Regions from separate parts of the Homo sapiens genome. Here all the other regions are linked to region 1. Evidence: promoter capture Hi-C in 16 types of primary human blood cells and fetal thymus (Javierre and others, 2016). All regions are on one chromosome and are shown on one strand. Each heading gives the region's core, a stretch centred on a gene start or on the middle of the fragment in contact. The rest is flanking DNA. Distances are from core to core; before and after follow the strand shown. Region 1 holds the start of NAA15 (N-alpha-acetyltransferase 15, NatA auxiliary subunit). Region 2 holds the start of SLC7A11 (solute carrier family 7 member 11). Region 3 overlaps SCOC (short coiled-coil protein).

Region 1 (3,809 bases), core at 739-3,238:
AACTTACTTTTATACAAATGTATATATACATATACATAGGGAGAGAGAAAGCATATATGGCAAATAAATATAAGTAAAGGTTTATGAGTGTTCCTTGTTCTCTCAACTTTTCAGTTTCATTTTTTTCAAAATAAAGAATTGTGAAAAAGAGATTAAAGATAAATTGCTATTCTAAACTTATGTTACAGTTCTACCTGCACACCAATTAGTCTTTTTAAGGGTTTAAAAGTAACTTTTTTCCTAAAACTATTTTACAGCTCCACCTACACTCTTAGTCTTAAAACAAAACAAAATTCCAGTAAGAATTTCAAGGTAACAGTTTTGCGACACTGCATGTGACTTTCTAATGTTTTTCAAAATGAATTCACTAAATCTGTAGGGCATATGGACACTTTTGTAAAATCAAAGTTAGTTCAAATGGATGATTATTCATTTCTAGAAAAACTGAATCCCCAGAGTTGTTCTACTTTTCAAACAGGTGAAATAAATTATAACTGCGGGGGAAAAGGCTAACACTTTCACACACACATCCCAAATTTTAAAAGTCTTAAATTTGGCAAATACAGTTAATTCTATCATAAGGAAACGTTTGCGTGAAAGGGGGAACCCACATACTAAATGCCAAACAAAAAATGTGCTACAATGTGTTAATTATAGCTCCAAGGCTACAGGACATATTTTACAATGTAAACAGTCCCTGCAAACATCAATGCATTTATGGTTTAAAAAAATACAAACTGCACACATTTGAACCGTAGGGAATAAGTCTGAGCTAGCGTCAACAAAATCCATCTCAAAAGTTCTTATATTCTCATTTCTCTGGTAAGTTTTTGCATGTGTTAATATACTTCAGTGTATAAGAAAAGTCTAGGTCTGCAACGTTTCAACTAAAGACTCAACTTTTTACTTCCTACCGAACCGCCCCCTCGCAATGGGCCCCACCTCCCGAGAAGAGTGACGGGGTGGGGCTGTTTCCCGCTCGGAAACTAAGAAATAAATGCCTCATCCCTACTCCAGAAACGAGAACAACGGAGGCAGAGGAGCTGAAGACTCCAGTATGCAACTGACTACAAGGAGGTAGTCGTTTGAAAAGCTTTCTTTCCTTCTCTGAACTCCTTCTTTCCCTCCTCTCAGGTCATTGGGTGACCCCGGGCCGGGCGGAGACAGGTGAATCCCAAGAGAGGAGGAAGAGGGAGGGACAGATGATGGAGGGAGAACCGCGTTTAGGCAATGAATGAGCCTGCTGCATCCGCACCACCTGTTCCTTCCAAGGGTGCCACCCCGACCTGCCAGCAGGGTTCCCACACCAACCGGGCCGCGACTCCTGCCGGTGTCGCCCACTTGCCCGCCAAAGGCCGGGCCTCTTCTCCCCCAGATCGGGGAGAATGAGAACCGGCAGTCTAGAAGCCGGGAGGTCGGGGCCTAGTCCGGAACCAGGGCCTCAAGCGTGGGGATGGAATGAAGAAGCCTGTGGTCCCTGGCGCGCGGGCCATAGTAGGAACCACAGAGAGGGAGCAAAGCAATGCATTCGGCCTGACGAGAGCTATGAAGGCGGGGTCCCGGGCGGGAGTGGCTCAGTGCCCGCCGGGCCGAGGTTAGGGGTGACAGGCCCGGTTACCGGCTAAATCCTCCCCACCGCTTGCCCGGAGCCTCACACTTACCAAGATCCGCTTGAAGAGCGCATTCTCCTTGGGCGGGAGGCTCACGGCCGGCATCGTTCCGGCTGCTCCCGCTGCTCCCGCCACCACCCGGCTCGGTCAGTCAGTTTGTCCGACCGCCGCCGCTGCCGTTCCGTAGCTGCTTCAGCCTTGAATATCTCGATCCGCCGCCACCACCAGGCCTCGGGTGTCGCCGCGTTGCCCTACCCGGACACCTCCTTTTTCCTCGTTGTCTTTTTTCCTTTCTCACTTAACGCTGCCGCCGCCTCCCCCACTACGGGTCTCCGTCGGCGGTTCACGTGGTAACTGAACAGACCGACAGAGGCAGCCAAAATGGCGGACGCGGAGGGTTTTCCCACCCGGGTCACGCTTCCTAACACGCAGGCGCGGTGACCTCCTTTCCCCACCTCCTCTGGGTTTCGGAGCTTGCCGGGAAACCTGGAGGCTGGCCTGCCTGTGGAGGCCGGGAGGGTCGGGGCAGGCCCCGCCCATCATTTCAGTGCGTGGTACCCTCGAAGCGCCCGCGGAGCTACGGGAGGCTAGGCAAGTACGGTTCAGACCGCCTCCTCATCAAAAACAGCCTCTCTGGCGCCTTCCTGCTAGATCGACCTTTCATTCCTTGGAAAGAGTCTCGCACACTGTGTGATCATCGTTTGAGCCCAAAGTGCTAAAATACAGGTGTAGGTGTTTGAGAAGCGCTGTAGTTGATTATGGACGAAATGCCTAATTTAAGGAGCAGAGGCGGAGTGGAAAATGAAAAAAGCTTCACCGCAGTGGAGACTTGTTAACAGCCCTGGGGAGAAAGGGGCTTAACAGAGTCTGGAAATCGTGAAAGAGCTTGACCGATGAAATGGGCCTGGCTGTCGTATCGGTAATTTGGTGAATGTTGCTTAAGATCAGCCTGGAAAGGTAGTTAGTCAGATCCGAAGTGACATATTTGCACTGCCAAAGGAGGCTCTGGAGGTTAAAGTATGTGTTTTAATTTCGTTGTTGAGGCCATATAATGCAGAGTTGACGGACCGACCTTATGAGTCACCTTGGAGCGGAGTAGTGGAGACTTAAAGACAGACTACCCTGGAGCTGGCTTCAAACTAGTTCTTAATATTGTGACTCGAACTCCCCATCCCCAGAAATTCTCAGATCTTAGAAGCCAAAGACTGGCAAGGATACTAGAGGGAACTACTCGAGTAGGCGAGGTCAGACTACATACCGAATAGGAGTCCTTCCAAAAATGTAAGTCATTTCATTAACAGCTGACCGTAAAACTTTTTCAAAGTGGCATTCCATTGATCTAAAAATTTTCAAGTTATATGAGCCACTTTTAACCTTTGGTTTTTGATTACCTCTTTCCAAATCCTGATTTCACTCTGTAGCATTCTTTGCATCATGAATTATTAAACAATATGTGCGTGTTTTTTACTGTTTTAAATTTATTTGCAAAGATATTTTAATTTTCAAACTTCTCTTAACTGTCCCTGAAAGGTGTGAGTTGAGATACATGTTTCCCAATATAAACTTGGGTTTTGTAGCTGCTATATTGATTGTCCTCGCCCTTCACCGGGGTCATAAATAAGGTTTTTAACAGTCAAATCCTGGAGTTTCCTTAAATTCTGTGATCTCTCTTCAAAAGTTTGAGAAAAATCATATATACAGGAAACTATGTTTCAGTTTGAAATATGGCCAGTATTTTAACCTTAACTTTATAAAACTAAGAACAAGCTTATAATTCATTTTTAAGCTGTTACTTAGTAATAACCTGCAAAATTCACTGCCCCAAGAGATCTTTCAACTGTCTGAACTATTGAAAGACAGAAAAAATAGTCTAAATGCAGTTGATAGTTTTAGCTTGGATTTCCAAATCTCTGGCTTCATATCCAAATTTCTGGCTTCATATCCAAAAATCCCTACAGCAATACTATTTGCTATAGTTCTCTAAATTTCTCCTGTAAAGAATATTCTATTTTCCTTCAGAGGAAGAAAATTTCTGGTCTTTGAAACAATCAGTAGCTTCCACCAGAACCTGAGTACCTGATTAGATGAGCCAGAAATAGAGTTTGGCAAATGTTACATTCTTTTTGGGTGATGACAAAGAAATGGCAATTTTAAAGGCTCGGCAAATACTAGTCTGATTCAACATTTAACTGATTCATT
Region 2 (3,528 bases), core at 304-2,803, 1.1 Mb after region 1:
TTTAGCAGGATTGCATGAGGAAAATGATCCATTTTTGTTTTTTGAAAGACATTAACAACTGAGAAAAAGTATTTATTTTGGTTTTATAAAAACTTTAACTTGGTGTAGCTGAAACCAATTATATAGAATTTAGATAGATAATTTAAAAAGGAGAAAATGTAGCCTCAATTATTTGGATGGCAAAGCATTGAGGTGGTGTCATTTTCTCAGGTGTCAACATAACAGAAAATGGTTCTGACCTTTTCCATGCTACTTTCCTAATGGCGATTTCTCATTTCTTTCTTTGATCATCCTCACCATACTTGACTCCCTTCTTTCCCTGCCAACCTCTCGCACACAGGCTTTTTGTTTGTGGTTTTTGTTCAAAGGTTCAGAAGCTTATTTAATGGTGCGTATAAAGGTAGCTTCAGGGTAATGATAACATTCAATTCTTCTCACTGAATCCAAAACCACATGTAACTATAGCCAAAAATGATATCTAGGATTTCTTTTCTTTTCATATTTGTTTTTTCTTGACACTTGGTTGAGAAAGTTAGAAGGGTTTAAAAATGTTTTGCCTTTTTGACTATTGCAAAGTAAATATTTTAATTTAGCTTACATTTTTAATGCATTTTAAATTTATAATAATAACAATAGTTTATATAATGTGGAAAAAAGTCATACATAATATCATTACTTTCTATAACTACCATTCTGTTTTCCTTTACAGGCTTTTGCTATATACATATTTTTATGTAATTGTAATTGTGTAATTTTGAACTTAGAAATTTTTTTTGGTAATTCAAAGGAACAACATGACAATGAAGGATATGTATCTTTTACATAGTTCAAAAAAATCACCTAGTGCTAATGAGAATCAGAAAATGACTATTTTCTGGAGTCATGGTGAATTTTGTATTAGTCACACTCGGATGGTGATTTAAAATACTGGTTTATTATGAGTAGTAAGAAATAATTTTATCTTTTAATGTTGAGGAAGGCTTATAGTTGTGTGTATGTGACAGAAGTATAAAGTGTAGAATCTTTAATTTTGTAAATATTGGATTTGACTGTATTGCCTTATAAAAAACTCAAAATAAAAAAATAAAAAGCATTACACAAATTATGAAATTCAAACTGTGTTGTTATAAACAATGTAGCTTTAGGATACATTCTACTCACAAAACAGTCGCATGTAAAATGTTTTTATACACGCATTAAAGAAAAAGAAACTCCTTAAAATGAAGTAACTATTTCCTGTTTCATTTTGTTTGAACAGCTTTTGTTGCTCACTACGAGTTGCTTTAAATCTCTGGGAAGGTCTGTTCCGAATTTACTACTTCTGGATTGGCTAAAATCTCTTTAAAGTGTGTGCTTTGTTCTCTAAAAAGCTTAGGTCAGTTGAGCAACAAGCTCCTCCTGTTTTTTTCTTTTTTTAAAAAAAAGAGCTGAGTAATGCTGGAGGCTTCTCATGTGGCTGATGCAAACCTGGAGAATTTGCATCATCATTTAGCTGTAGTAAGTTGGTGTGACAGGCAGGCGCTTAAATACAAGCCCATGAGGAAGCTGAGCTGGTTTGTAATGATAGGGCGGCAGCAGCAGCAGCAGCAGCAGTGGTGGAACGAGGAGGTGGAGAATTGAGAGCACGATGCATACACAGGTGTTTCTGAGTAGTAATTAGATCGCTGTGAAGGAAAAAGCACACCTTTGAGTTTTCACCTGTGAACACTATAGCGCTGAGAGAGACAGTCTGAAAGCAGAGGAAGACATCGATCAGTAACACCAAGAGACACCAAAGTTGAAAGTTTTGTTTTCTTTCCCTCTGTTTTATTTTTCCCCCGTGTGTCCCTACTATGGTCAGAAAGCCTGTTGTGTCCACCATCTCCAAAGGAGGTTACCTGCAGGGAAATGTTAACGGGAGGCTGCCTTCCCTGGGCAACAAGGAGCCACCTGGGCAGGAGAAAGTGCAGCTGAAGAGGAAAGTCACTTTACTGAGGGGAGTCTCCATTATCATTGGCACCATCATTGGAGCAGGAATCTTCATCTCTCCTAAGGGCGTGCTCCAGAACACGGGCAGCGTGGGCATGTCTCTGACCATCTGGACGGTGTGTGGGGTCCTGTCACTATTTGGTGAGTGCGACTTTTTCTCTCGTGGGGGCGTGGCTGTGGGGCTGGAAAGCTTGCTTTCTGGGAAAGCAAATGGTAGTTTTTGAGGAGTGAATGGATGGCAAAGGCCACACCAAATTTTTAAAATTTTTGTTCGGGTACGTGAACTACCCAGATGCAGCATCCGCTGTTGGTGTGATCTGGAACACCCTCAAATTGCTTCCTACAGGCTGTACTTTCTTTTCCTGACTAAGACAGGCTATCTTCTGACTTTTCTCTGTGGTGATGAGAGCAAAGGCTAACTTTCATGACCCAGTAAAAAACATGCACACTTTCTGTGCCGGGCAGTTGTACACTTAGCTTGGGCATTCTGGCAGCTGGCATGCTGAATGAGACACCTGTGAAGTGGAACCTGGCATGGGCTATTTAGACATAGAACGGAGTGTTCAGCAGAAGTCTTACTGACTTTTTATTAGCCAAACAAATGGGTGGCAGTCTTTATAAAAATATTTTTTAAGTTCATGTGCTTGTCACCTCTTAATATCCTTTCAAAAGTCCTTGACATGGGAGAGATGTATGATGGCGCATAACTCAATCCCTATCATAATGGGGTATATTGCAATGGCCTGAGCATATTTCAAATTACTTTTCAACCTTTCATCTCTTCTCAATACCCATACACTTTTGCAATATAAGTTTTAAAACTTCAGTTGGGCGTTAGTTTTCTGTACTTGCCCAGATCTGTTTTTTTCATTATATTTCACTTGTTCTCCAGGGACACAGAGAATTTGTCCACCTGTTCACTAAATTAATCTGAAGGGAACTGGCAGAAGTATAATTATGAATTTTTCTTCAAAGTTTATGTCTCTTCTATTGATCTGAGAATTAATAGTAAAGAGGTAAATAAATGCCCCCTTATGGAGTAGGCAAATTACTAGAGAGCTACCTGAGTTTGTTGTAAAGATGATAAAAACTGGTGAACTGTCAAACATTAAATTTGATTTATGCTATGAGGATTTATTTACTCTTCTTGGGAAAGATTCTGTACTTTAAAGTTGCTCTTTGTCTTAACTCTGGGACTAACACTAACTAACAAGTACTAACGCTAACTCTAGGACTAATTAACAAGTACTAACTCCTGTTCCCATGTGTACCAATCAATTCATTCTTTCTACTCAGGCCTTGTGATGTTTTAAATCATTGGTTTGACACTCATCTAGAGAACTCAAATTCCATTTTTTTTTTTTTTTTGAGACAGAGACTCGCTCTTTGCCCAGGCTGGAGTGCAGTGGTGTGATCTCGGCTCACTGCAACCTCCGCCTCCCAAGTTCAAGCAATTCTCCTGCCTAAGCCTCCCGAGTAGCTGGGACTACAGGTGTGTGCCACCACGTTGGGCTTATTTTTCGTATTTTTTAGTAGAGATGGGGTTTCACCATGTTAGCC
Region 3 (3,902 bases), core at 872-3,371, 1.1 Mb before region 1:
AGAAACAACATAACTGCCCACTCAAAGTCTGGTAAATTACAGTTGTGATTTTCTTTTTAAGAAGACATATTTTTATTTATTTATTTAGAAATGAGGGTCTTGCCAAGTTGCCCAGTCTGTATTAAACTCCTGGACCCAAGCAATCCTCTTTCCTCAGCCTCCTGAGTACAGTTATAATTTCTAATGGAGTGGCTACTGAAAATAATTATGACTATACTACATGAAAAAATGTGTATAAAATTGTATATTCACTGATGTAAATTATGTGAAATATATATAAATATGCATAAAAAACATGAAAATGAAAAAATGCTCTGATATTAAGGATGACGGTATGGATGAAGATAAAATTGTTTCAAATATTCTTCTTCATTAAAGTATTGCTTTACATATACTGTTTAATTTTTTACAAATAAAATTCAAAAGATAAATACTAGACCATCTAAAATATTAATATGGAATAAATGAAAAAATGTCCATTCATCAGCTCCTAGTCAGGGTTAAATCAAAACAGACTAATCAGGATGTAAATAAGTAAATAAATACTAACATTTTATTATTACAATGAAGACTTCTAAATATTAGAACAAAAAATTTCTATAAAACATGTTCTGCTCCATTGCTAACAATCATTTCATTCAATATGTTCAAAATATATTAAATAATGTCACCAGATTATTACTGAAAACAGATTTGTTAACCAATCTAATCTACTACATTGAAGCAACCTAGACCTGTCAGTGTTATTCTTTCAACAAGTATTTACTGAATATCTTCTATGCCCAAGGCATTGTTATGCCTCCGTATCTTAAACAGTAGAAAGCAGACCTATTAAATAAGGATATCTACATACTAGAACTAGAATCACAATAGAGATATCAGTGTATTACACATTCTCTCACAGCTGTTAATACAAATCTTGTTGTACTTCAGATACTAACATGAAATTTGAAAATGCCCAGTGTACATCTACATAAATCCTGTTACACTTTAGATACTAACATGAACTTCAAATTAAAATGCCCAGTGTACATATACATAAACTTCAAGTTTATAGTTCAAGTTAGATAGCACTCACTAGTCTAGAAAAAAATATGAAATATCCCTTGTATAACATTATTAAATAATTAACTACAAATGGTATACAATTAATTTAATAATGCTGAATAAACCTACTCCAAGTCTTCTAGCATCTGTCCCCTTATCTAAACCGCATTTAAAGTTGCTCTGCCCGACCTCTTTTTCACATTATTTAATTCTCAGGTTCTCTGCATTTCAGATTACTAAAATTTTTCCAACAATTCTTTTTTTAAAAGTTATTCAGCCTACTGTAGTATTTAAAGACCACACTCCAAAAACTATTCCTCTCCATTGAATCAACATGTCTCTTTAACTATAATTGAAGAGGAAGAGTGTCAGTGAAAACTTGATTTGACATTTCCCTGACAGAGAAGCACACCTGTAACCAGGTACTACAGTCATTCTCTTTTCATACCATTTCAACCACTGATCCAGCTAAAAGAGGTCTGAGTAAGATGAGAGAGGCAACAGCCAAAAGCAAAAGTGATCGTGGGAGTGCTCAGCAAGAGTAAGCTGCAATTTGGCATCTGTCTTTGCTAAATAATAAATTAAAAGTGCTTCAAATTTCTCATATCCAATGATTTTAAGGCTACAGCTAGAACGAATTTTCATGATAGCTAAGAAGAGTTATAAGATATACAAGCCAAAGCAACAGATAATCAGAAAATCGACACAGCTGATTTTGAAGTCAGATATAATACAGTGATAGGGTAGTCTTCTTTTGCTTATGTTTCAGACTAATATTTAAATTAAACCAAAAAGTCTGCAAAAACACAAGTATTCCAAACTCACCAATATAAGAGGTAAAGAAAAAGAAGCCAGTTTCTGAAATTCTGACCACATATAATTCAAACAATAGAAAACCTATGCATGGTTTAGCAACAGTGTGACTTCATCTGAAAAAGTGAAAGAAAATAAAAAGCAGAAAAACAGGGTGGAGAGGGCTTATTAAAGGAAAAATTACTCTTACACTCAAGATTAGGGTAGAGGCAGGAGCACAAAAGTAGTGCCACAAGAACAGTGCTATAAGGGTATACAACGCGAGAGAGCACAATTCACACCACAGTCTACGTAAGATTGCATCCCAAGTGTTGCACAGTGAAAAAACCGCCCACTGTATCTGGCAGCCCTACGCATAAGGGCATTACTCTTTAGTACAGTGGACCACAGCATTACCTGCTGCCTTTCCACGACAAAAGAACAAGAAGCAATTGTATTTTATTGTGATGTGATCAAATAGACCCATCTCAAAATGCTACTATTGTATTAATATATATTCAAAGTCTTTCAGTAGATTTAGGGCAATAAACTGATTTGTTTGACATATGGGATCAAAAGACTTGCTGAGTTCTTTATGTCAAAGTATTTTAGCCATGGATTTTTTCTTTTAAAATAGTATTGATCCCCAAACTGCCCAAAGTCTACATTAACACAGTACTACATCATAACAGATACTTAATACTGAGCTTTTCAAATTTTTCAACTATAAAATCCTTTTTTACCTATAGTTGCTATAACATCAATCTAATTCCATGTCAAATATGCTCTTAAGAGTTCACTTTCAACTCCTTCTGCTCCTATATATAAACGCAAATCTGATGAAAAACGAGAAAATTAAGACCAAGTCTGCTCAAGCGTGGGAACACTGAAATGAATTTGGGGCGCTGAGGCTGCTCTGCCTATCCTAAACCACCTTACCCCAGAAATGGACATGGTTCGCTGAGATTCTTCAGCTCTGATGTATGGCTAGGTCAGACCTTTCAAAGGTTTCTCAAAAAACACAGTAAATTCGGGTATCTAGCCTTGGTTAGTGGAAGGGAATCTAGAATTACTTTTTTGATTATTTAAGTCCAGGAGGCAGAACGCATAGAGAGAATACAAACCAGGAAATGTGGCAAACATTGGGACAAGATTCATTTAATTAAATAATTTTTGCCATGCACACACACCTGTGACCAAAGACGATCATCTTACCAAATATGCCCCTATCTTATTTTACAGTTATCTCTAATAGTGTACAATATCCACAATATCACTCTCCTCAAGAGGCAGCCTGGCACAATGATTAACAATATGGATTCAGATTACCTGGATTCAAATCCTAGCTCTGCAATTTATAAGCTCTGGAACCCTGGGCAAGGTTAACACCTCGGCCTTAAGTTTCCTCATTTGTAAAATGTGGATAATAACCGTACGTATCTCATGGGTTTGTTGTGAGAATGAGTGGATAGATACAATGTGTTGGCAACAGTACCTAGTACATAGTAGGTATTCAATAAATGTCTGCTATCGTCTTCTCTACCTTTTAGCTCTAATTTGGGCAACAGAAAGAATTTAAAGAAAACCATCTGGTCCAGCTGCTTCATTTTACAAAATCAAGGCCAAAGATGACAATGGCTTACTGAAGACCACAGAAGTAGTTAGCAACAGGGCCAAGACTACAACAAATGCCCAGTGTTTTTTCCACCATTCCACCACAACTATTGTCACATCTGAGCCTGCAGATTTTGAGACTTTTTCCTAATACCCGTCCATCTTCAGCCACTCAACTTTTCTGCATCTAAAATTGATTTCACCATCTGTCATACTGGAGAACTACTAAGACTGCTAAAATAATGTCTTCGTGCATTAATGTGCTAAATGCTTTGCATATGTTATTTCATCAAATCAACAGAAGGAAACTGCAATTTACAGATATGGACACTAAATTTCAGAAAGTCTATATATCTTTCAGAAAAGCTGTTTCAGAGGTTTCACAGCCAATGTCTCTACCAAGAATTTGAACCCAGGTCTAACTTCACAGTCCATGCTTTTTCCATTAT

What was found. Contacts are between HindIII fragments. The CHiCAGO score rates a contact against its expected background, and 5 or more counts as called.
Region 2: a contact is called between the fragment with the promoter of SLC7A11 here and the fragment with the promoter of NAA15 in region 1, in 1 of 17 cell types (erythroblasts). The highest score is 7.6, in erythroblasts.
Region 3: a fragment that was not itself captured here is called in contact with the fragment with the promoter of NAA15 in region 1 in 5 of 17 cell types (fetal thymus, total CD4 T cells, non-activated CD4 T cells and 2 more); the score reaches 12.0 in fetal thymus.

What each region holds. Positions count from the first base shown.
Region 1 is chr4:139,299,684-139,303,492 of GRCh38, reverse strand. It overlaps NAA15 (N-alpha-acetyltransferase 15, NatA auxiliary subunit), which reads right to left and starts at 1,988. Exons shown (of 20, transcript NM_057175.5): 1 at 1,662-1,988. The coding sequence starts at 1,715. NDUFC1 (NADH:ubiquinone oxidoreductase subunit C1) reads left to right here and starts at 1,016. Exons shown (of 6, transcript NM_001184989.2): 1 at 1,016-1,077. RefSeq lists enhancers at 1,938-1,997, 2,478-2,597. The HindIII fragment of the contact is 1,328 bases long and covers 1,096-2,423 here.
Region 2 is chr4:138,240,374-138,243,901 of GRCh38, reverse strand. SLC7A11 (solute carrier family 7 member 11) reads left to right here and starts at 1,553. Exons shown (of 12, transcript NM_014331.4): 1 at 1,553-2,109. The coding sequence starts at 1,833. RefSeq lists enhancers at 1,299-1,538, 1,008-2,207. The HindIII fragment of the contact is 788 bases long and covers 1,373-2,160 here.
Region 3 is chr4:140,374,749-140,378,650 of GRCh38, reverse strand. The region is part of intron 1 of SCOC (short coiled-coil protein); the gene reads right to left. Among named protein-coding and RNA genes, the nearest start is that of SCOC, 3.1 kb to the right of the region's middle. The HindIII fragment of the contact is 6,823 bases long and covers 1-3,902 here.